2 separate regions of the Homo sapiens genome follow, and region 1 is linked to region 2. Evidence: promoter capture Hi-C in human tissues and cell types (Jung and others, 2019). All regions are on one chromosome and are shown on one strand. The core of a region is centred on a gene start or on the middle of the fragment in contact, and the rest is flanking DNA. Distances in the headings are between cores, read along the strand shown.

What was found. Contacts are between HindIII fragments. The study calls those that stand out against the background at their distance.
Region 1: a fragment that was not itself captured here is called in contact with the fragment with the promoter of DACH2 in region 2 in 1 of the 25 tissues and cell types used here (thymus).

Annotation. Positions count from the first base shown.
Region 1 is chrX:86,943,972-86,949,193 of GRCh38, forward strand. No RefSeq gene overlaps it. Among named protein-coding and RNA genes, the nearest start is that of KLHL4, 570 kb to the right of the region's middle. The HindIII fragment of the contact is 3,098 bases long and covers 675-3,772 here.
Region 2 is chrX:86,145,768-86,150,919 of GRCh38, forward strand. DACH2 (dachshund family transcription factor 2) reads left to right here and starts at 2,684. Exons shown (of 12, transcript NM_053281.3): 1 at 2,684-3,341. The coding sequence starts at 2,854. The HindIII fragment of the contact is 5,915 bases long and covers 1-4,116 here.

The DNA of each region.
Region 1 (5,222 bases), core at 974-3,473, 800 kb after region 2:
AAAAAACAGGAATAACTTCACAAAAGAAGTGACATTTAAGCTGAGCATTTAAAAATGATAGGGGTTTAGAAAACATCAGCAAAAATATTAAAGGGACTAAGTAGTTTTAACAGAGTAATGCAAGGGTAGAAATAATGGCTGTTTTCAGATATTCAAATGGTGATTATGCATAAGACAGTCTTGATCTGTATTATTACGCTTTGGCTATATTGAGTTGAGGTTCCTGTATGAAATTCTAATGTAGATATTTAGTAGGTTGTTAAATATACAGCGCTGGAGTTCAATAGTGTTGTTCTTAACAACAATGAAGACGTTTCTCATTCATTAAAAATAATTGAGGGTCTACTATGGGTCCAGTACTTTAAAAAATATTGAAACGTATTGTTTTGTTTTATCTTCACAGCACGCCTATGTGGTAGCTATTATTGTTCTCATTTAACATATGAGGAAACTGAGGTATAGAGAGAGACATGAAAGTAGTCATCAGTGGTAGATGAGACATGATGCAGGTGAGATTATTTAAGCTAACTGGTAAACTCACAGCACCATCGAATAGAACTTTCTTCAATAGTAAAAATACTCTATAATCTGCCTTGTCTTATACAGGAGTCATTAGTCATATGTTGGTATTGAGCACTTAAAATATGGCCAGTGTGACTGAGGAATTTAATATGTAATTATATTTATTTTAGTTAATACAATTTAAATTGGGACAGACGCTTGTGGCTAGTGACTACTGTACTGGACAGGGCAGGTAGAGTAGGGGGAGATAGGGTTGTGTTAGAACTTAGAGGATGTCAAACTGCTAAGAGATGGGTAGGGGATTAAATCATTTGAAGGATACCTTTGGCCATCTCAGACTAAAGTAACTTATTTATCTGCAAACCTTTTCACCCATCTGCCTTCCACTTTGTTCATTTTGGACATAACATACACTGCCTGCTTGGTTCGCAACTAATCACAACATAATCATTAGCAAATATAATGCAGAAAACATTTTTAAACTTTGAACCTTGTTCAGTGCATAATATACTGTTAGTAATCTAAGAATCATTTCTACTTGATTGATTTGTTTTTGGTCTGAATCTGTTTGCAATCAGTTTTTGGAAGCAATTTAGCTTTTATATATTGACAATTTGGGTCTGAGTAAGAGAACAAGAATCTCAAAAAGTACAGAAATTGTATTCAAGGTAAATAAACAGTGGTGGAGTACAGACAGCTATATATGCTCTTAAAATTTTTAAAAATGCAAATCTTTAAGTAACGTCAAAATCTTTCAATATTATGAATAATAATATGACAAATTTTGGTAGACTACATTAATTTCAGTGAGAATTATTATTTAATACACACACAATTGCAGTTTTTTGAGGCAGTATTTTTTACCCGTTGGTATTTTGTTATTGCTACTCTGCAGTGATTCATAAAAATAATCATATTCCTCATCACTTTGTTGGAATTTCTATCTTGCAATTAACAAAGGGCAAAGAGCCCTTTTTTGAATTTTTTCCCATGGAGTTCCAGAAATTAAACTTACATTCACAGTACCACCTTATGCTGGTCAGGGGAACAGCTGGTCTAGGTTTTATTATGATTTACTGTTAGTTAATAAAAAAACTATTGCTGTTTTCCTGAGTTTAAAACCTCAAAACTGAAAACTAAACCCACACATAGTTTGCTGGAATTAAATTGTGACAAGAGAAGAGCTGCAGGAGTGTGACAAACCTAATGCGAACACTCTTACCCTACCATGTAAGAGTGAGAGTATCCAACTACTGTGTGTTGAAGAGAACAAATTGTTTTTATTATAATAGGAACACAATTTTAGACCAACTCTATATGTACTCTTTATTTGTGGTTAGTCTATACAAATTGGAAGATGTAAACACTTTACAAATATGTCTTTGTGAAGCCTAATGATAAACTTGAACATAATGATAGACTCTTAAGAAAAATTATACTCAATTTGGATGGCAAATTAGATCTTTCTGTCTATGCCTTCTCAACACTGATTACCCCAGTGGGAAGAAAGTTAATCTGAAGTTTTTGTTTATATGACCAATACATGACCATTTGTGCAAATATTAGTTTTAAGTTATTTGGGATCATATATCATTACCCAAGTTTCAAGGAGATAACAATTATAAAAACATCTGGACTGAGAATGAAAGCTTCTCAGCCCTAGTCTTGATTTTGCCATAAACTGGATATGCGAACACAGCTAATAATCTGAACATTTTTTGGATCAAATCTCATTCTAAAATGAGGGAGTTGGACTACTGGATAATCTTTAGGGTGTCTTCTGGCACTCTGAGTGTGTCAGAGATCATATTTGGTAATTATTAATACAGAAAATTCAACTTAGTGAACTGTACCACCAGGCTTTTCCAGAAGTAATATTATGTGATGGCTAAAATACTGAAGGCAAATTTTCTTCTGGCTACCACACATATGGGTTCTACTAACTGGAGCAATAGCTTAGGCTTTGATTCTAAGACAGTACCAAAACCAGTTTAAAATTAACTATCCCATTGTCATGCTCAGCTAGAGAAAAAAAGGCTGGCAAACCAGATTTACTAGTTTCTTTCTCTACAAAAAAAAATTGACAAATTACATAAGTTGCATGATTACAGAAATGTTAGCTAAAATTGAAAGTTAAAAACAGAAATTAAGACCAGAAATACCATTGTCCCATCCATTTAAAAAATAGAATGAATAAAAAACTTTGACATTCTTAAAGGAAACAAAATGTGAAGTGGAATAAGTGAGAGCAACACTACACAGAAGAATGTTGCTACACTGCCGCTTAGTGGTAGCCATGTGAAACTAAGTTGAGTGAAGATGAGTCAAAAACTAGTCTATTAATGAATTACTGGTAGCTCTTACTTCAGAGAATAGGTTAATTCTAGTAGTGTTGCATAAAACAAAGTTAGATCAAGAGGACAGTATTTTACCAGTGTTTGAGTTATAAAACTAAAAATATAGTCTCATGGAAAGTGCTTTGGCAAGTGGACATAAAATTATAATTAAGAATGAAACATAATTTAAGTATTTTCAAAGGAAAATAAGTCTTAAAGCAACAAAATAAACATCTTCTACTCAAAAGTCACAAAACTATAACAGTGAAGTAAACATGCAAAATGTAACTGTAATTTTTACCTCAAAATATTTATTTCCAACATGCAGGCAATAATCTGTGAAATAAAGATAGCTAAAAATATTTTTTTACCAGAGTCTTTAACTTGTTTCATATCTCCTTAACACTATTTTTATATATAAAATATTTACATTGATTTATTGCACACTTTAAGACTTAAAGCTTACTGATATATCTGTAGTGTATGTATATCTACTGATTCTTGTTTACACATACCCAATTCACCCTTTCTAATTACCAGGAAGTCATGATACTCAATATAGAAATTATAGGACCTCCTCAAAATGTTACCAAAGTGGTTGACTCAAAATGTGAAGGTATGAAAGAGGTCATAATGTTAAGTGTAATTGTATTAGTCCGTTCTCACATTGCTATAAAGAACTGTCTGAGACTGGGTAATTTATAAAGAAAAGAAGCTTAATTGCTCATGGTTCTGCAGGTTGTACAGGAAGCACGGCTGGGGAGGCCTCAGGAAACTTACAATCATGGTGGAAGGCAAAAGGGAAGCCAGCAAGTCCTACATGGCTGGAGCAAGAGGAATAGAGAGCAAAGGAGGAAGTGCTACATACTTTTAAACAACCAGATCTCATAAAAACTCAGTCACTATCATGAGAACAGTAAGGGAAAAATTCACCCCTATGATCTAATCACCTCCCACCAGGTCCCTCCCCCAACACTGGGGATTTCAATTCAACATGAGATTGAGGTGGGGACACAGAGCCAAACCATATCAGTAATTTACTGAAATGTTTTGACATTGCATCTAAGATGTCAAAACATAATAGAAAAAATAAATAAATTGATTGATTAAAAAGCTTATAAATAAAAAGAAAAGAAAGAGTCTATTTTTTGTCTGGCCACAAAGTTTCAAAAACAAGAGCCTGGACTTGGCAGCAGATATGTCTGCTGCTCTGTGGGAAAAATGTAGAGCATTGTAAAAAAAAAAAAAAAAAAAAAAGTAAAGCATTGTTTGAAAGTAATTAGAGACGAGAGAGAGAGAGAGAGAGAGAGAGAGAGAGAGAGAGAGAGAGGGAGAAAGTATCCTGAAAGCATTATATTCCCTCGTTTGAGTCAGGTTCAAATTTTGGACATGTGGCTTCAACACATTTTTTGGATTATGTGAATTATACCAGTTTCTAGCTAATAACTCTACTTATTTTTTTAAAGTTTGGGCTAGATTACTGTTGCTAGCTTTTTTGACTCATTCTGAAGTATGTAGTGTATATATGCTATTTTATGTCTATTATCAATTCTAGTTCTGATAATAATCACCCTTACTCCAACAGAAGTGGATCTGTAGCCCCAAATAGTTTGAGAATGTTTATTTACTGAATTTTTGAAACTGTTTTTCTCTATGTTTACAAAGTTGTGAGGTTAGCCTAGAAGCTGCCTAAGATTATCCTCCCTTCCATACAGGCAAGAGATTCCTAAAACCATTTGAAGTGCTAAATCCAGTTATCCTTAAGACAAGATCTTCCAGTGACCTAATCACAACTTGCTTAAGTTACTTTAAGTTAGGTTTCTGTTACAGCAATCAAAGGAATCCTTAATAAATGGAGCCTTCTGACTGATAACATAAAATTTTGCTCAAACATCTTGAAGGGAAAGAGTTAATATAGCATGTATATTATATGAAACAGCTCATTTGTGCTTAAGAATGATTAGCTTCAATCTGTGGGGAAAAATATGGCAGATTTCCTTTTTATTTCAATCAACTAAAAATATGACACTGATATTTAATCCAGAACTGAACACAATAGCTACGAAATACTAGTTGGTCAATTTTTAAAGTTATCATGCTATTATGTTTTTAATCTACACAAATAAAATATGGATCTACTAAGTTCATTCTAGTTGTAAAAGTTTTGAGCAACAAAGAAATAGAGTAGAACACAAAAGTTCTCTGTCAATTCCCATTAATTCCTACTTTTCTTTACAGAAGAAACCAGTGCTAATAGTTTAGGATATATTATCGTAGCCATTAATATAATCATTTGTATCTCAATAAGTCTTCATTTATTAATATATATTTAAACATGATATGCATTGCATTTTATATATTTTT
Region 2 (5,152 bases), core at 1,434-3,933:
CCTTTCAATGATCAATGGCCAATTTGAGTCTCTAGTATTTCTGCTAGAAATAGAACCGTAATCTTTAGTAATAATTAAAATATTACTGTAAACCTGATACATCTCATTAAACACATGACTTTTAATTTGTGCCTTTTCTAAAGTTGTCAAAGTATGTCTGTTCTTCAATTTCACAATTACTGATTACAGCATGAATGAATAATCTGCCTTTCTTTTTTTATATTTCAGATTTCTTAAATTTGAAACATCAAAATATCTGTGCAATGTTTTATTGCTGAAAACCCCAAATTGCTCTGCAAATAAAAAGGCCTTGATAATGTGGGCACAGCTACATACAAGGGGTAGCTTGGCCTTAGGATTTTTAACGTAATTAGAGCCATTTGAAAATAAAACATCCTTTACAGCCAAACTTATTCACCTGGAAATTTCAATCACAATAAGTTATCAGAGGCAAGCTATTTCAACAGATAGTTTAACAGCCATTTCAGTCAAAACACCTGTTGAATACAATTTGGGATTTCTCTTTTTAAAAACTGGTAAATACAAACATTTCTGTCAGTGCTGTTTTATTCTTTTTTGATACTTCTACTTTTGGTTGAGGCGTTTTCTGCCTTTGCTATTTCTTCTCAATTGTCCTTTTTTTGCCCCTTATTACTTTCTTCCCACAACAGTATCGATGTAGCAAAAACATTTTGATGCCTTTTAAAAATGTCTCGTGGCTGCCTATATCCCAATCTATTATGTTAGAGTCATATCACTGCATTTTGAAAGCAATGATCATCACAACTTCTTAGCATTTTAACCCTGTACAATTTGAAATTGAAACAGTATGAAGAGATTCAAAGGGCAGTTCTTAAACCTGGTTGATGAAATGAGAAAAGAAGAAAATATGTTGTAGAAAGAGGCAGAAAAATCCAATTTAGGGTATCTGTAACTAAATAAGGGAGCAAAAAGAACCCACACATTTCTCGTTGATCCTGCTAAGTACAACTAGGGCTGAATAAAATTCAGTAAGTTTCCAACATTATTTATATTTTAGAAGAATATCAGAGAAGTTACCATAAGCCATGTAGTTGGTAACGTTTTGTAAAGAAACGAAACCTGGATTTCACTTTATGAATAACTAACAGCCTCCAGAGAAGAGGAGCACAGGAAAGGAAATATCTTGGTTTTAGAGAATGAATAGCTTGACAAGGAGTCTTAAAACAACTTTGCTAGGCCAGGAGCGGTGGCTCACGCCTGTAATCCCAGAACTTTGGGAGGCCGAGGAGGGCGGATCACGAGGTCAGGAGTTCGAGACCAGCCTGGCCAATATGGTGAAACCCTGTCTCTACAAAAAAAAAAAAAAGTATGTATATGTGTGTATATATATGTATATATATGTATATGTGTGTATATATATATGTATATGTATACATAAATTAGCCAGGCATGGTGGCGCGCACCTGTTGTCCCAGTTACTCGGCCGAGGCAGGAGAATCGCTTGATCCCCGGAGGCGGAGGCTGCAGTGAGCCGAGACTGTGCCACTGCACTCTAGTCTGGGCGACAGAGTGAGAATCTGTCTCAAAACAAACAAAAACAACTTTGCTAAGGCGATCTAACCACCATATGCTGTGTGGAAAAGACCATTCCTTTTCCCTGGAATGTACCCTGCTTAGACATTTTGTTCTATAAGCTCTTAGTACGTTTGGGACGCTTGATGAGTGGGGGAAGTGGAATCTTGTTTAGGACTGGAGCTCCAATCACTGGACCTTCAAAGCCAATGGAAGAGGAAGGAAAATGCACGTTCAAGAATGCAAACCCTCGCCCTTTCCTCATATTCCGTGATGACTGTTTTGAGTCCTAAACAAACATTTCCTATCAATTTTAGCGGGGAGTAGGGCCAGGGCAATCTCGACACTAAGGGACGGGGACACAGACAAGTCTCTTCCAGGACAGTGGCGGAAGTGCCATAAAATGAGGTGTCCATCTGCCACCCACAGAGCAAGTCTCTCTGTTTCCCAAAGTGTTCACAGGCTCACTACGCTTCCTGAATGTCAGTGCGAGTTAGCAACCAGAACTCTGATCTGAGTATGATCTCGGACGCTTGTTCCTCTGCGCGCTGGGTAGGGGAAAATTTACACCAAGCGCACTTAGGTGGGCTAAAGGGCTGAGCTGTTTACTTCTGAACTCGCTAGCGTCTTTCTCCCGGAAGCTAGGCGAAGCCATCTATTAGCCCCCGCAGAGTTTGGGAGAGATGCGCAAGTGGAATTGGAGCTGCCACCTCACTTTCCACGATCTAACCCGGTGTAAGGTGGCGGAAGGGGCATGGGGAGGCACGTTCAGGAGTCGCGCTTTGCGTTTCCACCCCGACACCAGCGGAGCGCGGAGCGGATGGGTTCACAGCATAGGCCACTTTGAGAACTCTGCGTGACATCTGGGAGTTCTCTCGTCTGGCAGAGAGGCAAGAAGCAGAGGCACCACACCGCCCCCTTCTCGGACTGGATCTCTGTTCTTGGTCGAGCCTGGACCCACTCAGGTAGTCGGACGCCGGCCAGGGAGTCTCCACCTCCTCACCAGCGGCAGCCATTCGGAGCGCTCGGGCGCAGAAGGGCTGGGGCCCATTGGCTGTGGGACGCTGCCAGTCTCCGGAGGGGGTGTGGTGGGGGTGGGGTCTGGGGCCGCAGCGGGTCGGGGCTGCTCACTGTTTGTTGAGCTTGAGCGTGAGCCGGCTGCTGAAGACTTGCGAACAGTTCGGAGCCAGCGAGAGCGCGCCAGAGAGAGCGAGAGTGAGGGAGTGAGTGCGAGGGGATCTAGAGGAGTCAGGGCGAGAAAGCGAGGGCCGGAGGACCCACGATAGAGACAGAGTGACCATGGCTGTCTCCGCATCTCCAGTGATCTCTGCAACTTCCAGCGGCGCCGGCGTCCCGGGGGGCTTATTCCGGGCCGAACCCCTGTACTCGACTCCCAGAGAGCCCCCTCGTCTTACTCCTAATATGATCAATAGTTTCGTGGTTAATAACCACAGCAACAGTGCCGGAGGCGGCGGCAGGGGCAACACCAACACCAACGAGTGCCGCATGGTCGACATGCACGGGATGAAGGTGGCTTCGTTCCTGATGGACGGCCAGGAACTGATCTGCCTGCCGCAAGTCTTTGATCTTTTTCTCAAGCACCTGGTGGGAGGCTTGCACACTGTGTACACCAAGCTGAAGAGACTGGATATATCCCCCGTGGTGTGTACTGTTGAGCAGGTCCGGATCCTCCGCGGGCTGGGGGCCATCCAGCCCGGGGTAAACCGCTGCAAACTCATCACCAGGAAAGACTTCGAAACTTTGTTCACCGATTGCACCAATGCCAGGTGAGACACTCGTTTCTTGGCTCTCCCACTTCTCTTACCCCTTTGGCCTCTTCTGCATGCCTCACCACCCTCATCCAACTTTGTTTGTAGAGTGAGTCTTAACTAGTTTGCCTCTATTCTTCACGCTGTAAATCGGTGGGGAAAGAGGACTAGAAGCTTTCATTAATGCTGGTGCCTTCTAGTCCACGCTCAGTGCAAGGGCTTCGGTCTAAAAAAGTCCCGCAAACTTGAGTTTGCAGTCCTCTATTGAAACTTTCCAGCCTTTTGCCCATATCTTGCATGGCTTTTGGCTGTTCGTGGTTATTTGTTAATTTCTCTATTTGGTTTTCTTTCCTGCTCTTTTGTGGCCGCACGGGTCGGATAGGTTTTCTTCTGAACACGGATACCAAGGGCTTTCTCTGGGGGCTGGCTGAGCTGTAAACTGGGCTCCTAAGCTGGCAAGCCAGAACACAGCATTTGGGGCATGCAGGGGGTGGGAAGTCTAGAATCCATCCCAGAGGGTGATTCGATCCCCATCCCGTGTGTTTGTTGTGAGAATGTGTGGGGTGTGTGGTGTTGTTGTTTGTGGTGGTGTTGGTGTGTATGTGTGCAAGTGCGCGTGAGAACGTATGCTCATGCTTGCTGCGCAAAGCTCCCCAGTACACGATACAGGAAAGTCGATGGATACTATTTTTACAAAAGGACGACGACAAATATCACTTTCCTGGGATCGTCCGTTTTGGGTTATCTGCAGAGGGCAATGTGGGGCATGAACCACTGTGGCTGGGACTGGATTGGAGGTTGGTGTACAAGTTGGCAGATTTCTAGAGAGGATGCTCTCAGCTCTTCCAGGCGAACAGTTGGAAGGATCCCATTCCCTTAAAGACAGGATTCCTTAAATGATGATGGCCAGCTTCCCTGGTTGTAAGTGTACCTCCTTCATATCACAGTTTAGAAGTACACTAGTGAATAAATGTCCATTTGTATATGAGAAGCAAATTGTGTTCAATGTTTCTGAGTTTAAAAAGAAAAAAAGTATACTCAAGATTATCTGACTTTTTAAACGCCTGTGAATTAGTCTTCTAGTGTTTATTCCATCTCCAGTTTGGTAACATCTCAGGAAAGCACAGATTTGGCACAAAAATCACCATCACGTGGTTAAAAGGAGCAAAGGATTTTGTTGTAAAACAGCACTACTGCTTATTATTTTGCAAAAATAAAATAAAAAACCAACAACTTTCTCAAAATGAACTTTAAATCATAAAATCTCTGGGTCTGTGAACTAAAACTGTAACAGTTTGCCACATCTGTTGTAAAATCCAAATTGCCATGTATAGTTGAATGATACTGACAACTTGTAGGCAAACTGTTGCTTACTGCTGCAATAAGATAATGCTGCAGAACTTACAAGGGAAGCTTTTTCCTTCTTCTTTTTTTTCTTCAATTGAGCAGTGTTTTTCTGTGTTCAAGCAATTAAACAGAAAACTATTTATGTGAGAACTCCTACCTGATTCATATTTAGGGCTTACAAAGCTGGTTTATTATATCAGCTTTTCTTAAGGAAGATAGATGGCCTGAAAACACAAAGGATAACAGCTCCCTCAATAAAACAGGCAATTATGGATTGTAAGAGTAAAAAGACAATTTTATTTCGACTACAAAGCATTTTATTAGTACACAAACTAAAAAGGTTACAAGGGACTTCAGATAGTGGCCATCTAATTCATTTGTTGCCATCCAAAAACACTCAAACATTTAAATAATTGCAGACATGAAAACCTATTCTCTTATTAACTCTCTCTCTTTATCAGTCTCTCATCTCTCCATCCCTG